Regions from separate parts of the Homo sapiens genome. Here all the other regions are linked to region 2. Evidence: promoter capture Hi-C in 16 types of primary human blood cells and fetal thymus (Javierre and others, 2016). All regions are on one chromosome and are shown on one strand. Each heading gives the region's core, a stretch centred on a gene start or on the middle of the fragment in contact. The rest is flanking DNA. Distances are from core to core; before and after follow the strand shown. Region 1 holds the start of MAG (myelin associated glycoprotein). Region 2 holds the start of KIRREL2 (kirre like nephrin family adhesion molecule 2). Region 3 overlaps HPN-AS1 (HPN antisense RNA 1).

Region 1 (4,390 bases), core at 843-3,342, 570 kb before region 2:
CAGCCTGGGTGACAGAACAAGACTCCATCTCAAAAAAAAAAAAAAAAAACAAAAAAGGAACAGAAGCTAAGTCCATACAGGACTTAGCTTAACTGGCTCTAGAGCTGCTCAACCAAGGGAATGAGTGTGAAATTGCTTTGGAAACTGTCCAATGCTTCCTCAATGTAAAGGATTCATATTGACAGGAGAGGGTAGAGGCCTCCCTCCTGGCAGGTGGGAAACCTGAAATCAGGAATTACACTTAATGACACGGGGTGCTCTTCTCTCCTGAGCAAGCAGTTCTCTGGGGTGGTCCTAGAGAGATGGGAGAACATGTAAAGCAGAGATACTCAAATTTCAGCGTGCTCAAAATCTCCTGGAGGGCCTGCAAAAATGCAGATGGGTCCAGGCTCAGTGGCTCAAGCCTGTAATCCCAGCACTTTAGGAAGCTGAGGCTGGAGGATCACTTGAAGCCAGGAGTTCGAGACCAGCCTGGCCAACATGGTGAAAGCCCGTCTCTACTAAAAATACAAAAATTAGCTGGGTGTGGTGGTGCACACGTGTAGTCCCAGCTACTCGGGAGGTTGAGGCACGAGAATTGCTTGAACCTGGGAGGCAGAAGCTGAGGTGAGCTGAGACCTTGCCACTGCACTCTAGCCTGGGTGACAGAATGAGACTCTGTCTCAAAAAAAATTAAATAAATAAAAATAAAATGCAGATGAGGCTGGGCGTGGTGGAGCATGCCTATAATCCCAGTGGTTTACGAGGCTGAGACGGGAGGATTACTTGAGGCCAGGAATTCAAGGCTGCAGTGACCTATGATGGCACCACTGCACTGCAGCCTGGGTGACACAGTGAGACGATGTCTGTAAAACAAATAAACAAATAAACTGCAGATAGCTGGGCCTCCAGAATTTCTGATTCCACAGGTGCAAGGCGGGGCCCTTGACCTTGCATTTTGAGCAAGCTGCAGTCCTGTGGAGGACTGGTTGTGAAGCTGACACCATTGTCTGAGGGCAGCAAAGGCTCTTGGATGGATTGAGCCTCAGCTCCCATCTATGAGAGCTTTAAGCTTTAAGTGAGAGCTCCCCATGGCCGAGAGCTTCATTCTGAATTCCTGCTGCTAGGAATTCAAAACTCACATTGAAGTCCTAACGCCTAGTAGCTCAGAATGTGACCTTAGTTGGAGGCAGGGTCTTCACAGAGGTAATCAAGTTAAAATGAGACGGGAGAATCCTAATCCAATATAACTGGTTTCCTAAATCTGACAGGGTACAGTGACTCACACCTGTAATCCCAGCAGTTTGGGAGGCCAACACAGGAGGACTGCTTGAGATCAGGAATTCAAGACCAGCCTGGGCAATATAGTGAGACCCTGTCTCTAGCAAAAAAAAAAAAAAAAAAAAAAGTGCCAGTAGTCCCAGTTACTATTGAGAGGCTGAAGCAAGAGAGTCGCTTGAATCTGGAGGGTGGAGGTGGCAGTAAGGTATGATTGCACCACTGCATTCCAGCCTAAATGACAAAGCAATACTATGTCTCAAACATAAATAAATAAATAAATAAATAAATAAATAAATAAATAAACGGCAAATCTGGGCAGGGGTGAATACAGGGGGAAGGGAATGTGAAGATGAAGATGCCATACAGAGAAAGGCCCGGAACAGATCCTCACACCCCTCAGAAGGAACCAACACTGCCAGCACTTGATCTTGTTGATCTTGGAATTCAAGCTCAATTCTGGCAGGGTTTTTTGTTTGTTTGTTTGTTTGTTTGTTTGAGTCGGAGTCTTGCTCTGTTGCCCAGCCTGGAGTGCAGTGGCGCAATCTCCGCTCACTGCCAGCCCCGCCTCCCGGGTTCACGCCATTCTCCTGCCTCAGCCTCCTGAGTAGCTGGGACTACAGGCGCCTGCCACCATGCCCGGCTAATTTTTTGTATTTTTAGTAGAGACAGGGTTTCACCGTGTTAGCCATGATGGTCTCGATCTCCTGACCTCGTGATCTGCCCGCCTTGGCCTCCCAAAGCACTGGGAGTACAGGTGTGAGCCACCGTGCATGGCCTCAATTCCGGTTTTTAAGCCACCCAGTTTGTGAAACTTTGTTGTAACAGCCCTGGAAAACTGATACACCTGCTCTCTCGTAAAAGATCAGCTGATACGGCAGCACCGGCCACTGGATCTGCGGGTCAGTTGTCCCCTTAGACAGGGCACCTGCCCGCCAGTCACAGGTCCTGTCACCCAGCCCCTTCCTCTCATGGGCTCCAGCCGCCTCGCTCCCACAGGTCTCCTGGAGACCCGAGTTGCTGATGTCAGCGACTATTGCGAGTGCTCCTGTGGGACACTGTCCTCTCCCCAGCAACAGCCTTCAGTTCACACCCAGGGAGGAGATGGAGCCCCACACTGCACCAGCACACGACTCCAGCTCCAACTAGGTGGGTGTTGATGCTGAAGGCTGTGACATGCAAATACCCCCCAGGATCTCCTTGTCACCCCGACCACCACCACCAAAGCCCAGGCACCAGGCCCCTCTCTTCTCCAGGACCCAGGCATTCAAGCCCCGCCCGACTCTCAATGGTCCTTTGTCCCGGACTGGGAAAGGCACGGGCAGAGTCTGACATCATGAAGCCTGGGGTGGGGGTGGGACTCCCCCTCCCCCTCCAACTCCCCCCCAGCCCCACAACGCTTCTCTCCCTGGTCTGAGGGATTTCCCCGCCCCTCACCCCCTGGGTTCTCCCTTGAGAGCGAGGACCCCCCCTCCCCACTGCTCTGGCCTGAAGGAGGACAGGAGATGTCCCAGTGAGGCTGAACAGCTCATGGTGAAATCACTGCTGCACTTTGTCACGCCACCTCCAGCTGCCCCGAGCCCCCACCCACCTTGCAAAAGTCATGACCAAGGGGTGGAATCTGCACTCAGAGGGTCCTTGCCCAACTTGGTCAGCACAGTCCTATGTGCACCAAGCACTGCCCCGGGGACAGAAGGGTGCACATGACAGACAGAGAGGCAGATAGGTTTCTGGTGAGCCCCTGCCTCTGAGAGCTCCTGGGTTAGTGGGAGGCAGAGGCGGGCAGACCTAGGGTGCACACGGGCCAGCCTGCCAAGGCTACAGAAGGAAAGGACAGCATTGCAATGGAGGGGCCTGGCTGATGGGCGAAGATGGGAAAGCTTCCCAGGGAAGCGGCACCCAGGCTGCTGAGCCTACAGGATGGGTGAACGGCAGCCAGTGCCAGAGTGGGGAGTGCTATGGGGTGGGGACTGCTTTCCAGGAAGAATGAGCAGCAGGTGCACAGGCCTTGAGTCTGAAGGTGCCCTGGGGCTCTGGGGAACACATTCAACCACCCACACTGTTTATTAAGCTCAACTGCCTGCCAGGAGCTTGTCTACGAGCAAGGATGGATTGAGAATATCCAAGACGAAGCTTCTGGCCTGGTGGAGGTCACGTTCTCATGAAAGGAGTTGGTGAACACGGAAGGTCATTTCAGATGGCAAGAGGAGGTGACACTGACGTTGAGGGTGGAAAGGACCTGTCTCCTCCTGCTGCCCACCTAATGTTGCCACCAAGATTCCCTGAGGACAATGCCTCTGTCCCTCAGCCTGGGACTTCCAAAGAGATTAGACTGCCCCCCCACCCCCGGGACCCAGAATCAGGGTGTACAGGGATGGAAGATGGGGAGAGAGCAAGGCAGCCACTCCCGACCCCTCCAGGAAAGAGCTAGGAGAACCCAGGCGTCAGGCTGCCCAGTCCGAGCCCCGTGGTGACAAGGGCCCCTTTGTGCCCCCCTCCCCCGGGGGTAGGGAGGAGCTGGGCCCTGGAGGCAGGCGGCCCCTGGCACCCAGGGGGAGGGGAGGGGCTGGCAAGTGGGGGCCTAGACCCTGGAAGGCAGGGGACTGCGAGCTGGGCTGGCGGAGCAGAGGTGCAGAAGCAACTGAGTCCAAGTGAGTATGGTGGCAGGGAGGCCAGGGCAAGGGGAGCAGGGCACCGGGGCAGTGGCACCCAGACGTGAGCAGGGTCAGGTGCTCTGGGTGAGGGAGCATCGCTGTGCACCGCTACTGATTTAGGATGCAGGAGTGTGTGGCTTGGGGCTGCTTTGGGGATGGGCTCGGACCATCGCTGGGGCAGCGATGGGGCTCTGGGAAGAAACCACAGAGAGAAAAAACAAAGGGCCCCCCCTCAGCACCCCTTGTGGGTGAAGATTTTGCAGGAGAGGTTTCCTTGGGGTTCCCGAGTGCGGGGCAGATGGGGTGGAGGAGGTCTGCATCTGGCCGAAGAATGGAAGGATGTCCAGGTGATCAGACACCTGCAGGCTGCAATCTGGGAGGTGGATGGGGGCAGTGGGCTGTTAGTGACTGCATTCTAGCACCTGGGCACATAGCAGGTGTGTGTGTGTGTGTGTGTGCGTGTGCGTGCACACACATGG
Region 2 (3,959 bases), core at 1,067-3,566:
TTGCAGGCGTGAGTCATTGTGCCCAGCTGATTTATCTTTCTATCTTTCTCCATCTGTTTGAGACTCTCTCGCTCTCTATATTAAGTTGTTAAATCTCAGTCAATCTTTATTTCACTGTGTCTCTCCATCTCTATATGTCTCTGTTATTCTGTTTCTCTGTCTCTGTTCTCACCTCTGTCGCTCCCCTCACCCCACAGTCTGTCTCACACACACCAGGAGCTCCATAAATATTTGTTCTCAGCCACACTCTGACCACGCCTCTTTCTCTTATGTGTCTCTCCATCTCCGAGTGGCTCTGCTCATCACATCCCTGGATTTTATAACCATATGCTGGTGGGCCTGCCCTCCCCGCGTGCACATACACTTGCCTGGGATAAGCTTCTTCTGCCTGCTTATCTCCTGCGGGAATTGGAAATGCTAGTTTTCTCCCTACCTCCCCAAGACCCCCGCCAATATCGTTCCCAGGAACAAGATGAGGCATCTGGCCTCAGCCCCCAGCTTCATCCTCGATGCTGGACTTCCATCTTCCCTCACATGCTTGACTCCTTGCCCTCCTCCCACCTCCCCTCTCCCAACTGCTCTCTACACCCCCTGGGAAATGGGCTGGATGCCGAGCTGGGGGAGTGGCTCTGTCCTGGGGGCCCTCGCCAGATGGTGTCCCTAGGTGCCAGAGCGTGGAGCTGTCCCTTGCTGGGGCCTTTAATAAGCACAAACCTTCCACCCTCCACCTTGGCTGTTTTCCTTCTCTGCATGCTCCTGGGACCTTGGGCTCTCCATCTTTCCATGTCCGTAGCCCCAGAGAGCCAGGAAGGGGAAGCGGCGTCAAGTGCCTGGAAAAACAGCCCCATGACTTGAGTTCCTCCCTAAGACTCAGGAGTTCCAGCCCCATGTCCATCCTATTTCAAAATCCAGGCACTAGATAAGCCACACAGAAGCCGGGAGTGTAGGCCCCCAGATCCCTCCCCTCTCAGACCCTGGGGTCTCAGTCCCTTCTCTCCAAGGACTCGGGAATTTGGGCCTCTGATCCTCCTGGCCACACTACCCACCCCCGCACCTCCCCATACACACACACACACACACACACACACACACACACACACACACACACACACATACACACAGGACTTAGGACAGATGTTCACGGTCTGATTTCCAAATCCTCCTGGGCCTGTGTGGGGGTGGGGAGAGATTGGCAGATAGATCCACCGACTCTTAAGACTTAAGACCAGATATTCTGACCCCTGTCACCCTCTTCCAAGTGCACCATGCACTTGAGTGCACCTTGAGTCTCCAGCCTCTCAAGGAACCGGGAGATCAGGCCATCAGCGTCTCAGCCAGCAAAGGCCTGAACCACCAGTCCCTTATAACCCTGTAAGTCCAACCCCCACTCCCAACCCCACTCCCCCATTTAGGGACACGGAGTCTGAGCCTAAGAACAGTGGAGAATCTGAATGTGGACCCTCCAGTTCTTACAGGTCCAGGAATGTCAGATCAGGGTCCCAGCCCCCCAGCCCTCCTTCAGGCTGCTCGGGGTCCCTCCCACCTGCTCGGCCAGCTGCGCAGCGTGGGAACGCCCCAGCTGGGCTGCATGGAGCCGTCAGGACAAGCTGCGCGGTTCCCAGCCTCCCTGCCTGCCCCGGCCCGGCACCGCCGCCTCCCAGCCGTCGCCGGGCAACCAGGCCGAGGGGCCCGGCCGGCCGAGTGGGGAGAGGGGTTGGGCTGGGACTGCGGGGTCCTGGGAAAGGAGGGGCCGAGGGCCTGGATTCCTGGGTCTTAGGACGTGCTGTAGTTTGCAGCAATAACAAGGGAACAGAGGGATATTTTGAGGAGGGGTTTTGAGGCTGGGGGAGTCGAGGTAGGGGTCCCAACTGTCCCCCAGGTATCGGTGTGCCCTCTTCCCGACACGCAGGCCCGGGGGAGCCCCGGACCCCGCATCCCCCAGGGCGCGGAAACTGGCGAGGCCCCAGGAGCTCCCATTTATAGCTCAGTTTCCACTGAGCGCAGTCCCTCTAGGACCTGGGCTGAGCAAGTTTCTTCCACTCTCTCCCTTCCCTCCTCCTCACCCCTTGCCTGCCCCTCAACCCCGGCAGGGCGCAGGTGTCCAACCCAGCCGGGACCCCCTCCCTCCTCGAACCCAGGTGTTCCGGCTCCCAGACCCCAATTGAGCTGGGGGCGCCCACCCGCCGGGGGATCCCGCCCTGCGTCCCCCATTCATCCGCGTCTCAGCCGCGGGAGTTTCTCAACGGGAAGAGGGCGGAGCTCCCGGGGGGCGGACCCGGGCGGGGCGAGCGGGATCGGGCCCTCTTGGGGTCTCCCAGAGACCCAGGCCGCGGAACTGGCAGGCGTTTCAGAGCGTCAGAGGCTGCGGATGAGCAGACTTGGAGGACTCCAGGCCAGAGACTAGGCTGGGCGAAGAGTCGAGCGTGAAGGGGGCTCCGGGCCAGGGTGACAGGAGGCGTGCTTGAGAGGAAGAAGTTGACGGGAAGGCCAGTGCGACGGCAAATCTCGTGAACCTTGGGGGACGAATGCTCAGGATGCGGGTCCCCGCCCTCCTCGTCCTCCTCTTCTGCTTCAGAGGGAGAGCAGGTACCGCACGAGGGGAGCGGAGGAATATGGGGTGGGGGTGGGGAGTTGCTTGCGGGCTGCCTCTTCACTAGCGAGAAGGGAGCTGGGGGCTGGGACTCCTGGGTCCTGAATGAGGAGGCCCCTGAAGGTGCTAAGCTCAGCCCTGCTGCCCCGAACTCTCCTAGGCCCGTCGCCCCATTTCCTGCAACAGCCAGAGGACCTGGTGGTGCTGCTGGGGGAGGAAGCCCGGCTGCCGTGTGCTCTGGGCGCCTACTGGGGGCTAGTTCAGTGGACTAAGAGTGGGCTGGCCCTAGGGGGCCAAAGGGACCTACCAGGTAAGAGTGTTCTCTCCACGCTGGGACGGGCTGGCTAGGGGGAGAGTTGCTGGGCTCGGCTGTACCTGCAGTTTCTATTTTGACATTTTCAAGTTTGGGAAATTGATGGGCTCGGGTAAACATTTAGGAGTCCTGATTTTTGAGCTGCTTCTTTGGGGGTGACCCACGGAGTTTGGGAATTATTATGTTATTGCAAAATAGTACATAGGCCAGGTGCAGTGGCTCACGCCTGTAATCCCAACGCTTTGGGAGGTTGAGGCCAGAGGATCGCTTGAAACCAGGAGTTTGAGACCAGCCTGGGCAACATAACAAGACCTTATCTCTACACAAATGTATATATATATTTTAAACAAATTAGCCGGGTATGGTGGTGTGCATCTATAGTCCCAGTTACTCAGGAGGCTTAGGTGGTAGGATTGCTTGAGCCTAGGAGTTCAAGGCTGCAGTGAGCCATGATCAAGCCACTGCACTTCAGGCAATGGTGAGACCCTGTCTCAAAAAAAAAAAAAAAAGAGAACATAAATGCAAAAAAGTACAGTAAATATAAATGGAAGATTTACCAAATAAAATAGACACACACAGCCAATACCCAAGTCCATTGCTAGCTCCCCAGAAGACCCCGTGTTCCTTTCCCCTATCATAGCCCCCTCCCCCTCACTCCAGAAGTAGTATCTAACCTAATTTTTATGGCAATCATTTTCTTGCTTTCCTTCCTGACTTTATTACCCCTAAGTTTGCAGTGACTCTGGGTTGGGAGGGAGTTAGAGTCTCTCTGGGCCCAGTACACACTTTTTAATAGTGTCTTACCACCAAATGTGTGGGCCAGTTTTCTGGTGGAGGATGTCTGGGGATGGAGGCCTGAGGCCAGGATTTCAGAACCATGGTGTGCTGACTGCCTTCTCCCTGACTCCAGGGTGGTCCCGGTACTGGATATCAGGGAATGCAGCCAATGGCCAGCATGACCTCCACATTAGGCCCGTGGAGCTAGAGGATGAAGCATCATATGAATGTCAGGCTACACAAGCAGGCCTCCGCTCCAGACCAGCCCAACTGCACGTG
Region 3 (4,203 bases), core at 609-3,108, 770 kb before region 2:
CTCAGAGCAGGAAGCAAGTTCAGCATCTTGCAAACAAAACCTCTCTTTGTCCAAAGGAAACAGCCCATTGCAAGCTCCGAAGGCCAACACAAGGGACTGGTGGTGGGTGCTCTGGCCTCTGGCCTGCCTGGCCCACCCCTCCTCCCAAAGCCAGAGACAAGCCCCGGGGGCATCACACACTTTGACTAAGGTTAACTGAACACCCACTAAGTGCTAGGCAGCATTCTAGGCGCTGCAGACACAGCAGTGACCCAAACAGACAAAACCTTGCCCTCATGGAGGCGACATTCCAGTGGAGAAGACAATCAGTCAACCCAGCCAGTAAGTAGGTGATTAAACAGTAAGTCAGGCGGGGCAGGGCTGGGGAGTGCTGGAGAAGGGGCATGCAGTATTAAACTGGGGGGTTAGGGTTCCCTGGGGTGCAGAGAGGTGCCCTGGGAGTGGAGACTGAAGGTGGTGGAAAAGGGAGCCGAGCTGGCTGGGGGAGCGGGGAGGCGGGGGGACATTCCAGGCAGCAGGAATCCAGGAAACCCATCCAGGAAGGGTGCAGGTGTCTCCTCCAGCCCCCAGACTCTGGGTGCTCAAATTAAGATGAACTTTGAGCTGGAATATCTCCCACATCCCACCCAGGACATTTCTCCTTTTCTGACTTTCTTTATTAATCCTGAGACTGGGGGACACCCCCACTCCGCCAGCGCACACACACACACACACACACACACACACACAAAACCCTCCCCAGCAATCTCTCCTCCAGTATGTTTTTCCCCTGATCTGTGAAACCCCCAAAGACAAGGGTTAGGGATGGGGTCTCTCTTGGTCACCAGTGTGTCACCAGAACCTACCATAAGGCATTTAAAAGCATAGGTTAGGGCTGGGCACAGTGGCTCACACCTGTAATTCCAGTACTTTGGGAGGCCGAGGTGGGTGGATCACTTGAGGTCAGGAGTTCAAGACCAGCCTGACCAACATGGTGAAACCTTGTCTCTACTGAAAATACAAAAAAAAAAAAAAAAAATTAGCTGGGTGTGGTGGTGTGCACTGGCTGAGGCGGGAGGATCGCTTGAACCCAGGTGGAGGTGGAGGCTGCAGTCAGCCAAGATGGTGCCACTGCACTTCAGCCTGGGTGACAGAGCAAGACTCTGTCTCAAAAACATAAAAAAAATGAAAAAGCATAGGTCAGATCTCATCAGATTCCTGATTAAAAGCATCCCTGGGTCCCCCTTACCTCTGGGATGAAAACTGACCTCCAAGCCTCCTCCTAAGAGGCCCCCACAGCGGCCTCTCTCTGCTCACCCTGCCTCCTCCTACACTGGCTTTGTCTAGCTCACTCCACACCGAGGGTCCAGCCACACTGGCCTCTCTGCTGTCCCTGGACCACGCCAAATGCCTTCCCACCCCTGGGTCTTTGCATCTGCTGTTCCCCCGGCCTGGAATGCTCTTTCCCAGACGTACACACGGCTGGCTCCTTCCATCATTCAGGCCTCAGCTCCAATGTCACCTCTGCAGAGAGGCCTCCCTAGCCACTGTCCTCAAATCAGCCCATGGGGCTCAGCCACTCTGCGCTACCTAAAGCTGGGTAACACAGATCTAACCCAGTTTCTCAATCCAAAATTATCTTTTATTTATTGCTAGTTTGTCGCCCATTTCCCCCCTCTAGAATAGGCCAGCACACTTTTATGATAAAAGGCCAGATAATAAATATTTTAGGCTTTCAGGGCCACACTCTGCCACAACTACTCAAAGCTTCTGTTGTAACATAAGAACAGTCATAGACAATACACGAACCGGCGAGCTGGCTTTCATGAAGACATTATTTATAGACACCGGAATTTGAATTTTACATGATTTTCACACCTCACAAAATTTCCTCTTTTGGTTTCTTTTTTTCTAACCACTTAAACATGTAAAGACTATTTAGATTGTAGGCTGTGCCAAAACAGGTGGAGGGCCAGATTTGGGCCCAAGGGTGAAGCTTGTCAACGTCTGCCCTAGAACATCTGTTTTATGAGGTCAGGGATCTCTGTCTTGGTCATTGCTGTGTCCCCAGGCCCTGGGATGTTCCCGGCATGTAGTGGATGCCAAAGTTGAACAAATATGTGCTATAGAAAAGGCTTCGACACATTCATTAATTCTTCCAACAAATATCCATTGAGGTTTGCCGTGAGCTGGGCTCTGGGGAGATAGCAGGGAACATAATTTGAACGTGGGGCAGTGAGTTGACATCCTTGCATTGAATGACTTGTGTTCCTCCAGAGCTGACCTGGCCCCCCGACAGCCACTACGAGCTGTGTGGCTTCTCCTGTCCCAGCTCCTGCACCGAGCCTGCCCTGCCCGACAGCTGTCTGACACCATGCCAGGATGGCTGCCAGTGTGACCCAGGATTTGTGCTCAGTGGCACGGACTGCTTGACCCCCATCCAGTGCAGCTGCTCCATGGGGGGCAGATACCACCTGGCCGGGGAGCCATTCTGGGCTAGGGAGCACTGTGAGCAATTCTGCCACTGCGAGGCTTCCACCCATGCTGTGTGCTGCTCCCCCTCCTCCTGTGGGCCAGGGCAGAGATGTGGGACCCTAAGGGGCATCTTTGGGTGCCACCCATTCTCCCCTGGCACCTGCCAAGCAGCCGGGCACTCACACATCATCACCTTTGATGGGAAAACTGTTGAGTTCTCAGGTACCTGTGTGTCCGTCTTTGCCGAATCCTGTGGCTCTTCCGGCTCACTGCCATTCTTCAGGATACAGCTGTGAAAGGAGAACAGATCCAGCAGCCCCCTCATGCTCATCTTGGAGGTGTCTGTCCAGGTTAATGGGACCCAGGTCCACCTGCGGAGGGACAGCCCAGGCATGGCTCAGATAAGCACCAGCTTTGGGACGTGTCGTTTCTAGGAACCCCAACCCTTCACCCAAACCCATAGGCCCAAGGGAAAAACTTATTCTGTCTCCATTATTTCTACATTTTACCTCTATTTTCTGATTATATGCCCATTTTTGACTATATCCATCAGATGCATTCAGCTAATATAACAGAAACACTCTCAGACCAGCTTAAGAAAAAAAAGAATTACTGATTTACACAATTGAAAAAAAAAATCTACAGGTGTATGGATTCAGGCATAGCTGGACCCAGGTGCTTGAACAATATGTCTCAAATCTGTCTCAATTTCTGGGCTCTCCTTTCCTTCATTTTCAGACAGGCACCATCCCATCCCACCTTGTAGGGACAAGGACAGCTGCCAGGTTAGCAAATGTCACTGGAGGAAAAGTGTCCCTCACTGGCCCAGCTTGAGTCATGTGACCACCCCTGAATCCCTGATGGACTAGCTGATTGGCTGGGCCTGGGTCATGTGCTGGAAGTTAGGATAGGATTGACTTTCTGTGAACCACATGGATTGATTTTGGAGGGGTGAGTTCTCAGGGAAATCCAGAGAAAGGAGAAATGAATGCAGAACAGGATAAAACAAGAGATGGTCACTATTATAGTTATGTCCTTGTTCCTTCATCTAAAAATGTTTTACATGTATTGGTACGGTGGCTTACATCTGTAATCCTAACACTTTGGGAGGCCAAGGCAGGTGGATCCCTTGAGCCCAGGAGTTCAAGACCAGCCTGTCTCAAGCAGGCAATATAGCGAGACCCCGTATCTAAAAAAGAATTAGGTGGGTGTGTTGGCGCACGCTTATAGTCCCAGCTTATAGTCCCAGCTACTTAAGAGGCTGAGGTGGGAAGATCGCATGAACACAGGAGTTCATGGCTGCAGTGTGCCATGATTGTGCCACTGCATCCAGCCTGAGGGTCAGAGTGAGACCCTATATCAAAAAAAATCAACATTTTTCACGTATTTGAACACCTACTATGTGCCAAGCAACACTGACCCAACTGTGGTCCTATGCTCCCGAGCCTTCCTTTGATTCTGCCTGCTCCTTAGGTGAATGGTGAGACAACAGCCCTCCCCGTAAGCCTGAATGGGGGCAGCCTTGCCGTCCACTGGAATGGCCTCTTCTCCCTGCTGCAGTCAGACTTTGGCCTCTGGCTCAGCACAGATCTCACCTACAGCCTTACCCTCACCCTGCCCCACCTCTACAAGGGTCACACCTGTGGGCTCTGAGGCAACTTCAACTGCAACCCCAGTGAGGACGCTAAGGCTGACATTACCTTGGAGAAGCAGAGCAAGGCTTGTAGGGACAGCTGTGGGGCTGCCTGT

Evidence for each region. Contacts are between HindIII fragments. The CHiCAGO score rates a contact against its expected background, and 5 or more counts as called.
Region 1: a fragment that was not itself captured here is called in contact with the fragment with the promoter of KIRREL2 in region 2 in 1 of 17 cell types (erythroblasts); the score reaches 5.2 in erythroblasts.
Region 3: a contact is called between a fragment that was not itself captured here and the fragment with the promoter of KIRREL2 in region 2, in 1 of 17 cell types (M1 macrophages). The highest score is 6.0, in M1 macrophages.

The regions. Positions count from the first base shown.
Region 1 is chr19:35,288,297-35,292,686 of GRCh38, forward strand. MAG (myelin associated glycoprotein) reads left to right here and starts at 3,865. Exons shown (of 11, transcript NM_002361.4): 1 at 3,865-3,908. The HindIII fragment of the contact is 2,086 bases long and covers 1,050-3,135 here.
Region 2 is chr19:35,854,595-35,858,553 of GRCh38, forward strand. It overlaps KIRREL2 (kirre like nephrin family adhesion molecule 2), which reads left to right and starts at 2,317. Exons shown (of 15, transcript NM_199180.4): 1 at 2,317-2,586; 2 at 2,751-2,900; 3 at 3,814-3,959. The coding sequence starts at 2,526. The HindIII fragment of the contact is 4,263 bases long and covers 377-3,959 here.
Region 3 is chr19:35,084,276-35,088,478 of GRCh38, forward strand. HPN-AS1 (HPN antisense RNA 1) reads right to left here. Exons shown (of 4, transcript NR_024562.1): 3 at 2,681-2,825. It also overlaps the pseudogene LOC100420797. Among named protein-coding and RNA genes, the nearest start is that of HPN-AS1, 20 kb to the right of the region's middle. RefSeq lists enhancers at 1-657, 1,944-1,993, 2,104-2,213. The HindIII fragment of the contact is 229 bases long and covers 1,745-1,973 here.